Regions from separate parts of the Homo sapiens genome. Here all the other regions are linked to region 3. Evidence: promoter capture Hi-C in human tissues and cell types (Jung and others, 2019). All regions are on one chromosome and are shown on one strand. The core of a region is centred on a gene start or on the middle of the fragment in contact, and the rest is flanking DNA. Distances in the headings are between cores, read along the strand shown.

Region 1 (3,603 bases), core at 922-3,421, 140 kb before region 3:
TAGGACATCCACACCATTATTCAAAAAAGCATTCTAAATAGTCCTCAGCCCAGCATGGTGGCTCACACCTATAATCTCAGCACTTTGGGAGGCCAAGGCTGGAGGATTGCTTGAGCCCAGGAGTTCCAGACCAGCCTGGGCGACAGAGCGAGAACCTGTCTCTACAAAAAAAATTTTTTTTTTGAGATAGAGTCTCGCTCTGTCGCCCAGGCTGGAGTGCAGTGGCACAAACTCGGCTCACCGCAACCTCCGCCTCCCTGCTTCAAGCGATTATCCTGCCTCAGCCTCTCAAGTGGCTGGGATTATAGGCGCCCACCACCATGCCTGGCTAATTTTTGTATTTTTAATAGAGACGGGGTTTCACCATGTTGGCCAGGCTGGTCTTGAACTCCTGACCTCAGGTGATCCACCCACTTTGGCCTGCCAAAGTGTTGGGATTACAGGCATGAACCACTGCGCCTGGCTCAAAAACATTTTTTTAATTAGGCATGGTAGCTCGTGCCTGTAGTCCTAGCTACTTGGGAGGCTGAGGCAGGAGGATCACTTGAGTCCAGGAGTTCAAGGCTGCATTGAGCCAAGATGGCGCCACTGCACACCAGCCTGGGTGACAGAGTGAGACCTTGTCTCTAAAAAAAAAAAAAAAGAAATTAAAACATCAAGGATAAGTCACACTAAACTTCAAGTTGGACACAGAGAAGTCTCTCACATGCTGTTTCTTTTCCCCAAAAAGTCTCCCCCACCTCTCTTTGCCTGGCCAACTCCTACGTGCTCTTTTTTTCTGTTTCTTTGTTGTGGTGACTGAGATCACATCCTACTTCTTTACTCTCAGCTCCAGTGTCACTTTCTCCAGGAAGCCAGCTCTGACCCCTGAGATTAGGTTCGAGTGCCTTCGTTGAGCCTCCATGTACTCTGGGTGCTACTTGAGCACTTGTAATGACAGTTTCTGTGTGTCTGAGACAGGACCCAGTTGTGCTTATTATCCCTGGGACCCTGGCAGTCTGCACAGTCAGTGCCTGGCACTGAGTGATTCTCCCTTAGTGACTGCTGGTTAGAATTGGATACCCCTTCTCCACAAGGCACCCATTTGCCTCCCTCTGCTCACACCATTCTTCTCCTGTCCCTCCTGTACAAATCCAATGCATTCCTCAAAGCCAGGCTGCAGAGCCCTCTCCATCATGAAGTCTTCCTTGATCTCCAGATTCCTAGAAGGTCAGAGCTGACAGACCCTTGAAGAGCATCCAATCCAACCATCATAGACAGATGAGGAGCCTGAGGCCGGAAGAGTTCTTGCCCCAGGCCCCCCATTAGGGTTAGTGGGGCAGAGGTCATGCTGGCATCCCACCTGGTCCAGGTAGGAGTTGGTACGGAGAGCGATGGTGATGGCATTGATCACCAGCAGCAGGGCCAGCAGCAGTTGGAAGGCGGGGTGTCGGAGCAGCTGCTTGATGTACATGTGAGTGATGAACTCCTGCATGTCCCAGGCGTCCTGGAAGAGGGCAGGACCTTCCTTCAGGCAGGTGTCACCATAGGAAGCCTCTGCCTGGGGGTTTGCTCTTAGAGAATGGGGGTTCCTGGGGCCCACTCTAGAGGGGGGAAATCATCTGAGAGTGGATCATGGAATGGAGACATCAGTGTAGAGATCACTATCTAAATGGCCACTAAAAGTGGGTTACTATCGGGGGATTTTGTGGAAGTCATTGCCAGAGAATCTCTTTGGGCTCTCTGATAGTGAAGATGATCGTTATATAAGGGTTCCTATGGGGGGCATTGCCAGAGAGTTACTAACATATCATGGGCAGTCACTCAGGGATCAGTGCTAGGGAGGGTCTTCTGGGGGCGTTTAGAGGGTAGAGGGGCAGAGTTACCATGAGGGCCTGCTGCCCATGAGCACAGCTGCAGAAGGGGCCACTGTGGGGCGAGAGCTATCCTTACCGCTTTGTTCGTGATTTCCTGGCGGTTGATGAGCACTTGCTCCTCTGGCCGACCGTAGGACTCGTGAATGGTACTCTGCAGGGGAGAGGGGCGGCCCCTCAGTGCAGCTACTGCCCCTCCAAACCCCATACGGTCCTCCTGAGTCCCGCCCCACCCCTCGAGGCCTGTATGGGAGGTCCATTGCTGCCACCAGGCCTTTTCATTATCCCTCATGTTTGCTCAGTCTCTTCCTTCTCCTCAAAGAATCTTCACTCCAAGTGGTCTCACTCCCCCTCGTGGTGATATCACAGAGGCCTCTGTGACCTCCAGCCGTCTGCATTCTACTGAGGAATTCCAACCTGGAGAGAAGCTCCTCCCATTGGCCCTCCTCCGCATCCCACAGAGGAAGTCTGGGGATGCTGTGGGGATGCTGGGCTGGGGTTGGAAGTCAGAGGCTGATGGGAGCAGGTCAGATTTCCCGTGCAGCCTGAATGGAGTCACAGGGACATGTCCCTGCCTTGGATCCAGGAGGTGGAGGTGAGGCTGGAATGAGGAGTGAAGGAGAGAAGTGTTTTCCCCAGGGCCTTCCCAGGGCAGACCTCAACCTGCACCCTTCCCCACCAGCTGCCCTGTCCTACCAGCCCAGTCTCCAGGACTGTCCCCACCACCTTTCCGTGCAAAGTGCATTTCCCCATCTACAAAGTGGAAGTTTCTCATTGTGTGCCCCCCGGGAATGGGGTAGGAGATCACCATTAGCCTTCAAAGAGCTGGGGAGAGGTGGACATGAGTCGGAGCCCTCATTAGCCATGGGTCATCCCCCACCATCCTGGCAGGCTTGGAGCTCGGGTACAGAGCCCAGGCCAACGGGCTGCACGAAGGGTCTGCCACCCACCCTCTGGCCAAGAGCACTCACCCCAGTCCCCACAGGGGGGCAGATTTCCAATTCGAATATGGAAGTAAAGTTACATGTAGACTCATTCTTAGAAAAATTGACTTTATTTGGTTGGAAAGTAGCCCTCATGTAAAATAAAGAACACCTGTACAGACCTGGTTTGGGGGAGAACTGCCAAGGAACTGGAGGGGCAGGGCTGTGGCCCCAGAGGTTGGAGGATTTGGGGGGAGAGTTTCTTCTTTGGCAAGGGAGAGGGTGGCACAAAGCCCAGGCAGAGGGGTCAGCTCGGGGTGAGACCATGACTAGCAGTACTACTTCCCACCCTGAACAGAATCCAGGGATGCTCTGTCCTGGACACGTCAGAAGCTGGGGTTGAGGTGGCCCTCGGGTCAAAGGTCAGGAGCTAGAGTGCTGGCCAGGGTCAGAGGTCAGGAGGTCGGAGGCTGCTCTCTGAGGTCAGGGGGCAGAGATGGGAGTGCTCTTCAGGGTCAGAGGGCAGGGAGTGGGGGGACTGTTCTGTGGAGTCAGAGGTCAAGATGTGGGAGCTGCCTTCAGCCTGTGCCACTCCCCAGGCCCCCAGGCCCTCTGAGTACAGCTCCCGGTTCTGCTCCTTCCACTGGCGGAACTTCTCTCCTGTCAGCTCAGGGTCACCCAGCACTTCTTCTAGGACCTGCAGCTCCTGCAGCTTTGCCTGTGTGGAGAGGAGGGGCTAAGGGACCATGATCACCCAGGGAAGTGGGCAGAGCCCGAGGCCAGACTTCACTCCGGAGGTCCGGTGCCTGGAAGCCAGCACCTGGCCA
Region 2 (3,901 bases), core at 468-2,967, 210 kb before region 3:
GATGCCAAGTGTCAGGACTCGGCTGCCACACCTGAGAGGGCAGAGGCTTGGAGAGCCCGGGAGCAGGCTGGAGTCCCAAAGGGAGGACCCCACTGCTATTAGAATGTGGTCCATTCCGCTCAAACACTGCCCCGCTGCCCGGTGCCTTCTTGGCCTCAGGCAACACTCTGTACAACTCCTTACTTGTGCTGGTTCTTGGGTTGTGGAAGCGGACTCGGTGGTGAGGATCTGAATAAAGTGTCTCCATCATTGCCGACTGATTGAGGGTAGATTCCATGCTAGGAATATCAAACTTCCTCGCCTCTTCTTGTCTTTCATGGCCCACTGCTGGAAACCAGGACTGCTCAATTCCATTTTCTCCAGTAGCACCAGAGAAATACATGAGATCTCTAGATAGGCCTGGAGAATGTTTCATTGCACCGAGGTCTCCATTTCTTGTCATTCCCACACTTTCAGCCAACCCTGACAAAGGGAGTTTAGAGGAAGAGGGTCCAACAGGTGTAGAATTTGGCTTGGCAGGAGAGGTCCCTAAAGTAGAAGGCATCACATGGGCTGTTGGAATGGTTACGTGGCTTTTGATGGGCTGGAAAGGAGGACTGCCACTTGAGCTGCAAAAATCTGGGGAGAGAATAGTCTTCCATAAGTAAAAATTGAAGTAGCAAGCTTTCTTGAGTTTGAATGCTATGCCAGAAGCTCTCGGCCTGTCCTGAGACCAAGCAGAGAGAGCACCATCATCAAAAGTATCAGGCAGAAAGAAACGGCAACCAAACTGGGAGATGTATGTTCCAGGATCTCAAATGCCATTCACAAGGTAAACTAACAAAAGGCAATAATGACTTCACTTTTAACTTAGTCCTTTGTACTGGAATAAAAAAAATCTTGTCAGTCAACAGACAAAGCTGAAAAACTTTTAAAAAGTTTTTTAAAAAATTTAAACTTTAAAACAAATTACTTACTTAAGGAAAATGAGTTAGGTCCTACTCTTCTGGAAGCTGGACAACTCTCAGCTATAATCAAATCTAATAAAAATATCCTTTCCAAGAGTCACCAGAATCTTCTGCGACCTCCAAAAGCTCCCCCAGGAAGGTGAGCAACGAGTCCAAACTATCTGAAGAATGAAGCGAACTAGACAGTCTTGCTCAGTATGCAGGACAGGGAGTATGGCATCTGAGGCAGGATTCTGTTCTCTCTCCCATACCCCAAACCTGACTGCCTGGATATGTGAAGTTATTCTTAGTAACTCTCAGGTTTCACTCTAGCACAGTGAGCACTCTCAATTGGGTACACACTGAAATCCTCTATTTTATATTTTGCCTTTCACTTGCCCCCTTGTGTGTACCCAACTGTGTTTTTTTTTTTTTAACTTTTCCTTCAGACTGAATTTGTGTTTCCTTTGGCTCCTGCCTGGTCTTGGGAGACAACCCTTGATTAGCCCTACTATACAAGGTTCACATTTCTACCTATTTCCAACTTTCAAGTACTACTCTGAGGGGGACTACTGCAAGCAAACAATAAGGGAGGAATGTGAGGTAACATACTTATTGCTTTCAGCAGGCAGAAAACTGAATAAGGAAATAAGGAATACCAATTTCTTCTCTTTTCAACTATATTCAGTACTCGTTCCCAAATCAAGCATATCTACCACGGAGAAGAGCGACTACCAACTTGTTTCTTTTTCTCCCCAGCAACCAACACAGAGAACACTCAGATAACAACAACAAATACTATAATTGTTCCCAGAATTATGTAAGTATAGATCAGCTACGACCTTCTCATTAAACAACTTTTTTTTTTGAAATGGGGTCTCACTCTGTCACCCAGGCTGGAGCACAGTGGCGTGATCACAGTTCACTGCAGCCTCGACCTCCCCAGGCTCAGGTGATCTTCCCACCTCAGTTTTTGTATTTTTAGGAGAGATGGGGTTTCGCCATGTTGCCCAGACTGGTCTCGAACTCATGGGCTCAAGTGATCCACCTGCCTCAGCCTCCCAAAGTGCTAGGATTACAGGTGTGAGCCACCATGCCCGGCCTTAAGCAACTCTTTAAAAATATGGGCAAGCCACCTCACACCTGTCAGAATGGCTATGATGAAAAAGATGAGGCCGGGCGCAGTGGCTCATGCCTGTAATCCCCAGCACTTTGGGAGGCTGAGGAGGGGGGATCATGAGGTCAGGAGATCGAAACCATCCTGGCTAACACGGTGAAACCCTGTCTCTACTAAAAATACAAAATATTAGCCAGGTATGGTGGCACGCGCCTGTAGTCCCAGCTATTCGGGAGGCTGAGGCAGGAGGATCGCTTGAACCCAGGAGGTGGAGGTTGCAATGAGCCAGGATCGCACTACTGCACTCCAGCCTGGGCGACAGAGTGAGACTCCATCTCAAAAAAAAAAAAAAAAAGATGAAAGATAACAAGTTTGGAGAGGATGCAGAGAAAAGGGAACTCTAGTACACAGTTGGGGGGAATGTAACACAGCCACTGTGGAAAACAATGGAGTATGTAGCTCCTCAAAAAACTAAAAATAGTTACCATATGATCCAGCAATCCACTTCTGGGTATATATCCAAACGATATGAAATATGTATGTCCAAGAGATATCTACAATCCCATGTTTACTGAGTAATTATTCACAATAGCCAAGTTATAGAATCAACAGACGAACAGATAAGGAAAATGCAGTATATTACACAACGGAATACCAGCCTTATAAAAGATGTCAATTGTGTCACTTGCAACAACATGGATGAAACTGGAGGACACTAAGAGAAATAAGCCAGGCACAAAATGACAAATACTGCACGTTCTTACTTATATGTGGAAGCTAAAAAAAACCTCGACACATAGAAACAGAGAGAATAATTGTGGTTACCAGAAGCTGGGAGCAGGGGGAATCGAGAGATGCTGATCAAAGGGTAAAACATTTCGGTTAGACAGGAGGAATAAATACTTTAAAAAAAGACGTGCAAGCCTTATATTACATGCATAGTATCTAATTTGCTATACTGAAGATGATCTTGGGGATATATAAAAGGCCACACTAAAAAAACACACACACACGTAACAAAACAAAAACCTGAATAAGTTCTGATAACATGCATTAGTCTCTCAGGACCAAGAAAGAAATTTCTCAGTTAAAGGACCCAGTTTCTGATGTCTCACAACTTAAATATAGGACTAGTACACAAGGTTAAGGCAGACTGCTAGTGATAAAGACTTCAAAGACTAGTAAGCAATACAATTTTTTGTTTTATTTTTTGGAGCCGGAATTTCACTCTTGTTGCCCAGGCTGGAGTGCAATGGCGCGATCTTGGCTCACCACAACCTCCTCCTCCTGGGTTCAAGCGATTCTCCTGCCTCAGCCTCCCAAGTAGCTGGGATTAAAGGCATGCTCCACCACGCCCGGCTAATTTTGTATTTTTAGTAGAGACAGGGCTTCTCCATGCTGGTCAGGCTGGTCTTGAACTCCCAACCTCAGGTGATCCGCCCGCCTCGGCCTCCCAAAGTGCTGGGATTACAGGTGTGAGCCACTGCCCCCGGCCCAATTTTTTCTTTTTTGAGATGGGGTCTCACTCACTCTGTTGTCCAGGCTGGAGTGCAGTGGCACGATCTTGGCTCACCGCAACCTCTGCCTCCTGGGTTCAAGCGACTCTTCTGCCTCAGCCTCTCGAGTAGCTGGGATTACAGGAGCCCGCCACCATGCCTGGCTAATTTTTGTATTTTTAGTAGACGGGGTTTCACCATGTTGGCCAGGCTGGTCTTGAATTCCTAACCTCAAGTGATTCACCTGTCTCGGCCTCCCAAAGTGCTGGGATTACAGGGATGAGCCACCGTGCTTAACCATAAGCAATATGTTTTAAATCCTCCATAACAGCACCATAGTTATCAGTTCTTACCAAGGGTCA
Region 3 (3,597 bases), core at 372-2,871:
TGTAATCCCAGCTACTCAGGAAGCTGAGGCAGGAGAATCACTTGAATCCGGGAAGCAGAGATTGCAGTGAGCTGAGATTGCAGTCGAGCCTGGGCGACAGAGACAGAAATGAAACTCTGTCTCAAAAACAAACAAACAAAAAAACCACTATACATAAAAATGAACAATGATGCCACAATAGCACCAGAGAATTTTATAAATACAGATTCCCAGGCCCTGCCCCAGACCTACTGAATCCTGGAAATATTCAGGCTCCACACCCAGAGATTCTGGTTCGGTTGGTCTGATGCAGGGACCTGTAACCTGCGTTGTAACACCTTCTCCAGGTAATGCTGAGCCTGCTGGTGCTCAGAGTAGACAGACCTGGAGAAAACCAGGGTGTCTGAGGTTTTCCAGAAGAAAACCAGAGTCCAGAGAAGCAGAGAGGCACTCAGTGAGGACCCAAGCAGAGCGGGTGCACCTCACATCCTCACTCCTGGCACCCCGTCTCCTACAAGATGAGAGACTGAAAGAGCCCCTTCCTGTCCCCAGTGGTGTGGGCAAGAGGCCTGCACCTCTGACTCTTGGCTCTGTGAAAGGCCATACCCACCAAGCCTATGGTCCTAGCGACAAAGGGTGCTGGGGAGACGAATTGACCAGACAGGGAGGTCTCCAGCAGCTTCTTTCTACACAGAGGGCACCTGTCAGAGGCCAGCGTGGGGGCCACAGGCTCCCCAATCCCCAAGAACCGCCAGGGAAGGAGGCTGCTTCAAGTGGGTGGGGCACCAAGCTGGCCAGGAAGGACAGGGCTTCTCCCAGCGGTACCAACACGGTGGCACCTCCGGCCTGCATCTCCCAGGCTTGCTTGTCAGGCTTCCTGGGGCTCCCAGGAGCCGCTGCGGGGGAGGGGAGAAGGGGTGGCAGCAGTGGCAGTGGTCGTCTCTGCTCCGATGGTGACTGCCGATGACACTGTTCTCTGTGCGGGTGGAGACAAAGCCGGCCACTCCAGATTCTCCTGCGCGCAGGAGAGGAGGAGCTGGCGCTGCTTCAGTGGCGAGGATGGGTCGATCAGTCCCAGCCGGTCCTAGGGAGAGACACTGCCCCAGCCTGAGGGCGGCGCAGCCCACCCCACCCCAGGACCCTCCTAGCAGGAGGACAGGAACGCAAGCCGACCTCGGGGGGTCTCCGGCCTGAGAGGGGAACATGATCAAGCCCAGGGCAGCCGCCAGTCGGAGGGGGCAGACGCGGCCCCAGTAGCCTCTGGAGACCCTCTTCCGAGGCAAGGAGCCACATTCCTGCCGTCGGGACCACCAAAGCGGATTTCTACAAACTAAAGTCGAGAACTTTTCGGCGGCGAGGCGGCGCACCCCGCGCGGGAGAGGGGGCGCAGGCGTCACCCCGTCCTCACTCAGCAACACCCGGCGCCGCGCCGGGCGAAGGCTGGCAAACTTCTCGCGGCCGGCAGGTGGGCTCCGCGGGCCCCATGGGCGCAGGCACAGGTGTGCGGGGCCACAGCCGGGCCTTTTGCAGCCGGCGACCGCCCCCCCTTCCCCGCGGGCTTTTGCACACGACGCGCCGACGGCAGCTTCACACGGGTTGGCGAGGGCCGGATAAAGCCGGCGGCCGCGGGGCGCAGCGGCTGACCCGAGACACGGGAGCGCTTGGCACGCGGAGCCAGAGCCGGAGCTGCAGCCGCAGCGGGAGCCGGGGGAGCTCAGGGGCCGCAGGAGCCGGGCCGGAGTGAGCGCACCTCGCGGGGCCCTCGGGGCAGGTGGGTGAGCGCCACCCGGAGTCCCGCGCGCAACTTTCAGGGCGCACTCGGCGGGGCGGCTGCGCGGCTGCCGGGACTCGGCGCGGGACTGCATGGAGGCCAAGGAGAAGCAGCATCTGTTGGACGCCAGGCCGGCAATCCGGTAAGGCGAGAGCCTGGGGACGGGCGGGAATTTTGGCGGCAGCCGACGCACCTCCGCATTTGCCATCCTAGCAGTGGTTGGTTTTGGCTGCGGCTTGAGCTGGGACCATGCAGGAGGGGTGGGGTGAGGTGAGGGAACGAAGATAATGGGCTGTGGCCCAAGGACCGTCTCTCCCTTGGGGCGCAGCCCAGATTCTGACCCCTGCCCGCGGGGGGCCTGGGGCCGGGGGATTGGCGGTTCCCATGCCTGGAGTCCCGCCCCGCCCAGCACTTTGCCCCAGGCAGCCCCGCCCCGGGGAGGCCCTGTGTCCCAAGTGCGCTGGAGGGGGCCTGCTGTTCTCCCAGAGCCTGCGCTCTGTTCCTTCCCCGCGCTCCACTGGACAGCACGCCCCTTGGCCGGTTCCCAGGGTCTTCACCTCCTCTGGCCTCTGAAGGGCCCCGGGCCCCAGGACTCCCATTCCCCTATCATCCCCGTCTGAATACAGGCTTCTCACCTCTGGTTTGTCGAGCTCGGAGCGTCCTTAGCTATTTTTCCCAGTGGACACAAGGCCTCACAGAGAAATGGGACTAGAGTCGGCCCTCCTTACCTCATCTCAGAGCTGAGCGTTCCCTCTCTTCCCCTCTGGCCAGGTCATACACGGGATCTCTGTGGCAGGAAGGGGCTGGCTGGATTCCTCTGCCCCGACCTGGCCTGGACTTGCAGGCCATTGAGCTGGCTGCCCAGAGCAACCATCACTGCCATGCTCAGAAGGGTCCTGACAGTCACTGTGACCCCAAGAAGGGGAAGGCCCAGCGCCAGCTGTATGTAGCCTCTGCCATCTGCCTGTTGTTCATGATCGGAGAAGTCGTTGGTAAGCACTTTTGGGCTAATTAAATGAAGTTGGTGCATGGATAGACTGGATGTTCCCAGCAATACTGACACTAAAAGCCCCAATTACTGAACACACACTACAGTAAGCCTTTATATACACATTATCTGATGCAGGTCTAACAACAACCTGTGTTCTCACATGGGTGACGTTATTCTCCTTACTTTACAGATGATGAAACTGAGGCATGTTCAGGTGAAGTAACTTGCCAAAGATCACGCACAACTCGTAGCTAAGGGAAGGCCTGAATTCCTAGAAGGGAAGAGCATTTACTGAGTATCTGCTATGTTTTCCAGTCCCTATTTGAACTTGATGTGCACATTCACCCTCTAAGTAGATATTGGTGGCCCATTTCACAGAGAGTGGAAGTTGAGGCTCAGAGAGAGTAGGTCACTTGTCACGGTGGTACAGCTCATGGGTAGAGAGATCTTGAGCCCAGAATGTCCTCTTCCAGAGCCTGTGGTCTCCCTGCTGCACACACAGTCTTGGGAGCCAGCTCTCTGGGGGAGCTGATAAGGACCCTCCACCCTGCAGGTGGGTACCTGGCACACAGCTTGGCTGTCATGACTGACGCAGCACACCTGCTCACTGACTTTGCCAGCATGCTCATCAGCCTCTTCTCCCTCTGGATGTCCTCCCGGCCAGCCACCAAGACCATGAACTTTGGCTGGCAGAGAGCTGGTGAGGATCGCGGTTTGGCTGGAGATGGGGTTGAGAGAGAGGGTGGGTTAGAACAGGGGTTCTTAGGTGGCTGTAATGGGTGGATCCCCCCTTCCTCCCCTGAGTGAGGCCAGGAGGGTGATCTGGATGGGGGAAGAGGATGTCAACCATGGCCTC
Region 4 (3,878 bases), core at 932-3,431, 210 kb after region 3:
AGTTGTCATTACTGAGCATCTTCTCTGTGTAAATAAAGGGCAGTACCATTGTTAAGACAGTGGGATTGGCATCATGGCTTTCCCTCAGGAAGGTGGTGGCTGGTAAATTCCCTGAATGAGTCTATGATGAACACTGAGGCAGCACAGTGGGTATTTATCTCTATGAAAGTGCCTTTTACTCAGCCTGCACAGAGCCATCTCTTTGCCCTTCCAGATGTCTGACTGGGACCTTGCTTATGGATGTGTTTTTTTTTTTTTTTTTTTGAGATGGAGTCTCGCTCTGTTGCCAGGCTGGAGTGCAGTGGTGCGACCTCAGCTCACTGCACCCTCTGTCTCCCGGATTCAAGCGATTCTCCTGCCTCAGCCTCCCGAATAGCAGGGACTACAGGCATGCGCCACCACGCCCAGCTAATTTTTTTTGGATTTTTAGTAGAGACGAGGTTTCACCATATTAGCCAGGATGGTCTCCATCTCCTGACCTCCTGATCCGCCCACCTCAGCCTCCCAAAGTGCTGAGATTACAGGCATAAGCCACCGCGCCCAGCCAGATGTGTGAGCTTTTAATCTCTGGCTGATCTTAACCCACATCAGCCTAAGCTTGGGATGATTACTCTTGACCCTTTTTTTTCAGTGATTAGCAAATCTCCCCACAACCCAGGTGTGGAGAGAAGAGAGGTAGAATGGTGCTAGTTTCCTATTTTATTTTTGTGGTAACTGTACAGCACTTTAAAGTTATATACTCTATGTTTAAATATCTCCCTTAAAAAGCCTGAGCTGTACAACAATCTGGATGTGACTCTGTTACCCTTTTCCCACAAGATAGGAGGGAATCCCCTTTGTAAAACTATGAATCCAAATAAATGTTTACAAAGTGGCTCTTGTGATAATTGGTAATTAAACCATTACCAATTTTATTTTTGAAAAGGCAACACTGTAATAGTATATGCTGTCATTGCCCTGAGCCTGATCTGAACCAGAGTCTAGTTTGACCTGTCTTCTACCCAAGGCATTATTCCTTGTTGTTGATGTGGTATCTAAGAGGCTTAAACAACCTCTAAGGGACAAACTTGCAAGGTTATAAGAGAACTGCTTCTTTTTTTTTTTTTAACTTAAATTTTATTTTTTTGAGACACGGTCTCGCTCTCTTGCCCAGGCTGGAGTGTGGTGGCATGAACACGGTTCACTGCAGCCTGGACCTCCTGGGCGCAAGTGATTCTCCCACCTCAGCCTCCCGAGTAGCTGAACTATAGGCACATGCCACCATGCCCAGCTAATTATTTTTAAAATATTTTGTAGAGATGAGGTCTTGCTTTGTTGCCCAGGCTGATCTTGAACTCCCAAAGTGCTGTGATTAGAGGTGTGAGCCACTGTGCCTGGCCTAATTTAAATGTTAAATTCTACTTTTATCGTGTATGTCATCTCTCCAGTCATTTTCCTGGAAGACCTGCTTTTAAGAATGTATGGGGCTTAGTGCGGTGGCTCATGTCTGTAATCTCAACGCTCTGGGAGGCTGAGGTGGGAGGTTTGCTTGAGACCAGGAGTTTAAGACCAGCCTGGGCAACATAGCAAGACCCCATCGCTACAAAAAAATTTAAAAATTTCCTGGGTGTGGTGGTGCATACCTGTAGTCCCAGCTACTCAGGAGGCTAAGGTGGGAGGCTCACTTGAGCCCAGGAGTTTGGAGGCTGCAGTTAGCTAATGATCCCACCACTGCACTCCGGCATGACAGAGCTAGATACTGTTTCTAAAAAAAAGAAAAAGAGTATAGGGCAAAATCTCTACAGAAAGGGGGAAGAAACCCCCTAGAAGGGCAGGACCTTATAAGGAAAGAGGAGAAGCCAGTAGCCTGTTTAAGTTCATACACCTTAAAATTAACAATAATCCTATGCCCCTGAAGGATACTGGGTAATCGCAACTCAAGAGATGGACACAGCAAATGCATTCTCTCTCCAAGTCCTTCCTTTAATGTCAGGTAGTGCTTCAACCCAAACACAAGCAGTATACATACCATAGAGAAAGGGACCTGAGGGCATCTGAGTCATGCATGGTGTGGTACATACAAACCTTGGCCCAGCCCAAAGGAGCAGTCAAGGGCCTGGAAGAAAGATGGTTTGCTCTTTCCCCCTCCTCCTCTCTCTTTCCTACCGGGCTTAAAGTCCGTGGAAGAGAAAGTTTTTAATCAGTGGAACTGATAAGGCCTCAGGGCCGTGGAGGGTAGATTTGGTTGTTCAGTAATATAAAATGTGTTTAAGAAAAAAAACAGCCCAGGCTTCCCAGCAGTAGCCCATGTGTTGGCTGGTTCAGCAGCCTGACCTCTACATCTAGACAAGGAAGTGAGGAGGGTGATTGCTGGGCATTGGTGTAGGTTTATGACGGAGCAGCATAAGATTTTCCGTGCCCTGTGAACATGTATACAAACATTCATAGCCCCTTCCCCTCAGCCCTGCTCTGCTGCAAGGAAGCTGCTGAGTGAGTGACAGCTGGGCACAAAGTGTCTTGTGAGACCAGCTATAGGGTCTAATGCAGTGAAGTCAGTCATTTAGGACCTATTTTCACACAGGGGCAAGGAAAAACCAGAAACAACTTCTCTCTTACCCTTTAAACTAAGATACTTCATTCTACACGATTACCTGAAACAAATGTCTCAGGTCAAATCACAAGCCTTAGCTTCTGCTAGGGTTTGAAGTCTGGGAAATATATAATCCAGCTCTTCTCTTTCAGTCCAAGCTCTAGCTTGTCAGCAAGACTGTTGCAGAAGATCTATCCTTAAGAGGCAGAAACATCTGCGGTGAGGAAGGCAGCTATTGAAGGTATTCCAGGAGCATGAGACTGAGTTTGCAGAGCTGAGGGTTGTCAATTTCCTTTTCTACTGATATCTTCTTCCTTTAGAGCAAACTTCCTCCTTAGGACCTCAGAGATAAGCACAGCAGGGTCTTCCTCCTTCAATAAACTCCGGTTCCTAGAGACACAATAATAGCTTGAGTACTTACTCTTTCCTGTGTAGTGCTGTATATCTTTTGAATACATTATCTCGTTGAATCCTCACAACAATCTTACGAGGTAGGTGCCATTACAATTCCCTTTCACAGATAAGGAAATTGAAGCACAGAAAGGTTATACAAGTTGCCCAAGGTCACTAGTCACTCAGCAAGTAAGCGGTGAATCCAGAGTTCAGAACCAAACTAGCTGGTTCCAGATCTCATCTATTAACTAGAATGCTTTACTATTTCCTGAAATAGCTATAAAGTATGGGCAAAGTAAAGGACCATCAGTCTGTTAGAGTTGGCCTCTGGTGGCTAAGCTTCTGCCTTCTGGCCCTGTTTTCTTAGTAGCATTTCCCCAGAGGGTCAGCAGGGGAAGTGACTGATGACTCTTGGCTATTCTGACCCTTGATAGTTCTGGAGAAAAGGTGTGCTTGGGATTTCCTACCACCGGGTCTCCCCTTCAGGGGAGATGATTTTTTATGAGAGCCAGAATTAGAGCAAAACATTCACATAAGAAACTCATGGGAACAAAACCAACTCCAGACTGAAGTAGGCCCAAGTTATCTGATACATCATATAAGAGGGTCCTAGATACCTGGAAAATAGTTGCTTGAAATCCTAGTGAACTTATATACATTCATCATGAAGGTGTTTTACTGGTGATTAAGCTAAATATAAGAGCCAAGACTGACTATTCAACCTTCAAAGCAAAAACAAGAGGGACTGCGTTTGGTTGGTGACATATCTGAACCTTTGCTGACTGGGGTACTTTCCCATTCTTATTCACTGACCCAGCTCCTTCTGATCTGAGGACACAAGTGGGAGGAGGGGGCTAGCAATAAGGGTCTTGAATCTAATTTGGTCCAAAAGGCAAGTAAGAGAAAGTTTGAGAGT

What was found. The method cuts DNA at HindIII sites, captures the fragments that hold promoters and counts their contacts. A contact is called where the count stands out against the background at its distance.
Region 1: a contact is called between the fragment with the promoter of CATSPER4 here and the fragment with the promoter of SLC30A2 in region 3, in 1 of the 25 tissues and cell types used here (adrenal gland).
Region 2: a fragment that was not itself captured here is called in contact with the fragment with the promoter of SLC30A2 in region 3 in 4 of the 25 tissues and cell types used here (dorsolateral prefrontal cortex, mesenchymal stem cells, psoas muscle and 1 more).
Region 4: a fragment that was not itself captured here is called in contact with the fragment with the promoter of SLC30A2 in region 3 in 1 of the 25 tissues and cell types used here (dorsolateral prefrontal cortex).

Annotation. Positions count from the first base shown.
Region 1 is chr1:26,189,170-26,192,772 of GRCh38, reverse strand. It overlaps CATSPER4 (cation channel sperm associated 4), which reads right to left and starts at 2,171. Exons shown (of 10, transcript NM_198137.2): 1 at 1,933-2,171; 2 at 1,343-1,486. The coding sequence starts at 2,145. It overlaps CNKSR1 (connector enhancer of kinase suppressor of Ras 1), which reads right to left. Exons shown (of 21, transcript NM_006314.3): 21 at 2,889-3,494. The coding sequence ends at 3,225. RefSeq lists an enhancer at 1,468-2,285. The HindIII fragment of the contact is 15,004 bases long and covers 1-3,603 here.
Region 2 is chr1:26,251,888-26,255,788 of GRCh38, reverse strand. It overlaps CEP85 (centrosomal protein 85), which reads right to left. Exons shown (of 14, transcript NM_001319944.2): 4 at 1-618. Among named protein-coding and RNA genes, the nearest start is that of CEP85, 20 kb to the right of the region's middle. The HindIII fragment of the contact is 5,989 bases long and covers 1-3,901 here.
Region 3 is chr1:26,044,142-26,047,738 of GRCh38, reverse strand. SLC30A2 (solute carrier family 30 member 2) reads left to right here and starts at 1,621. Exons shown (of 8, transcript NM_001004434.3): 1 at 1,621-1,892; 2 at 2,522-2,742; 3 at 3,295-3,441. The coding sequence starts at 1,843. RefSeq lists an enhancer at 2,022-2,590. The HindIII fragment of the contact is 12,838 bases long and covers 1-3,597 here.
Region 4 is chr1:25,831,002-25,834,879 of GRCh38, reverse strand. MTFR1L (mitochondrial fission regulator 1 like) reads right to left here. Exons shown (of 7, transcript NM_001099625.2): 7 at 1,942-2,959. The coding sequence ends at 2,854. It overlaps AUNIP (aurora kinase A and ninein interacting protein), which reads left to right. Exons shown (of 3, transcript NM_024037.3): 3 at 1-874. Among named protein-coding and RNA genes, the nearest start is that of MTFR1L, 13 kb to the right of the region's middle. The HindIII fragment of the contact is 3,867 bases long and covers 248-3,878 here.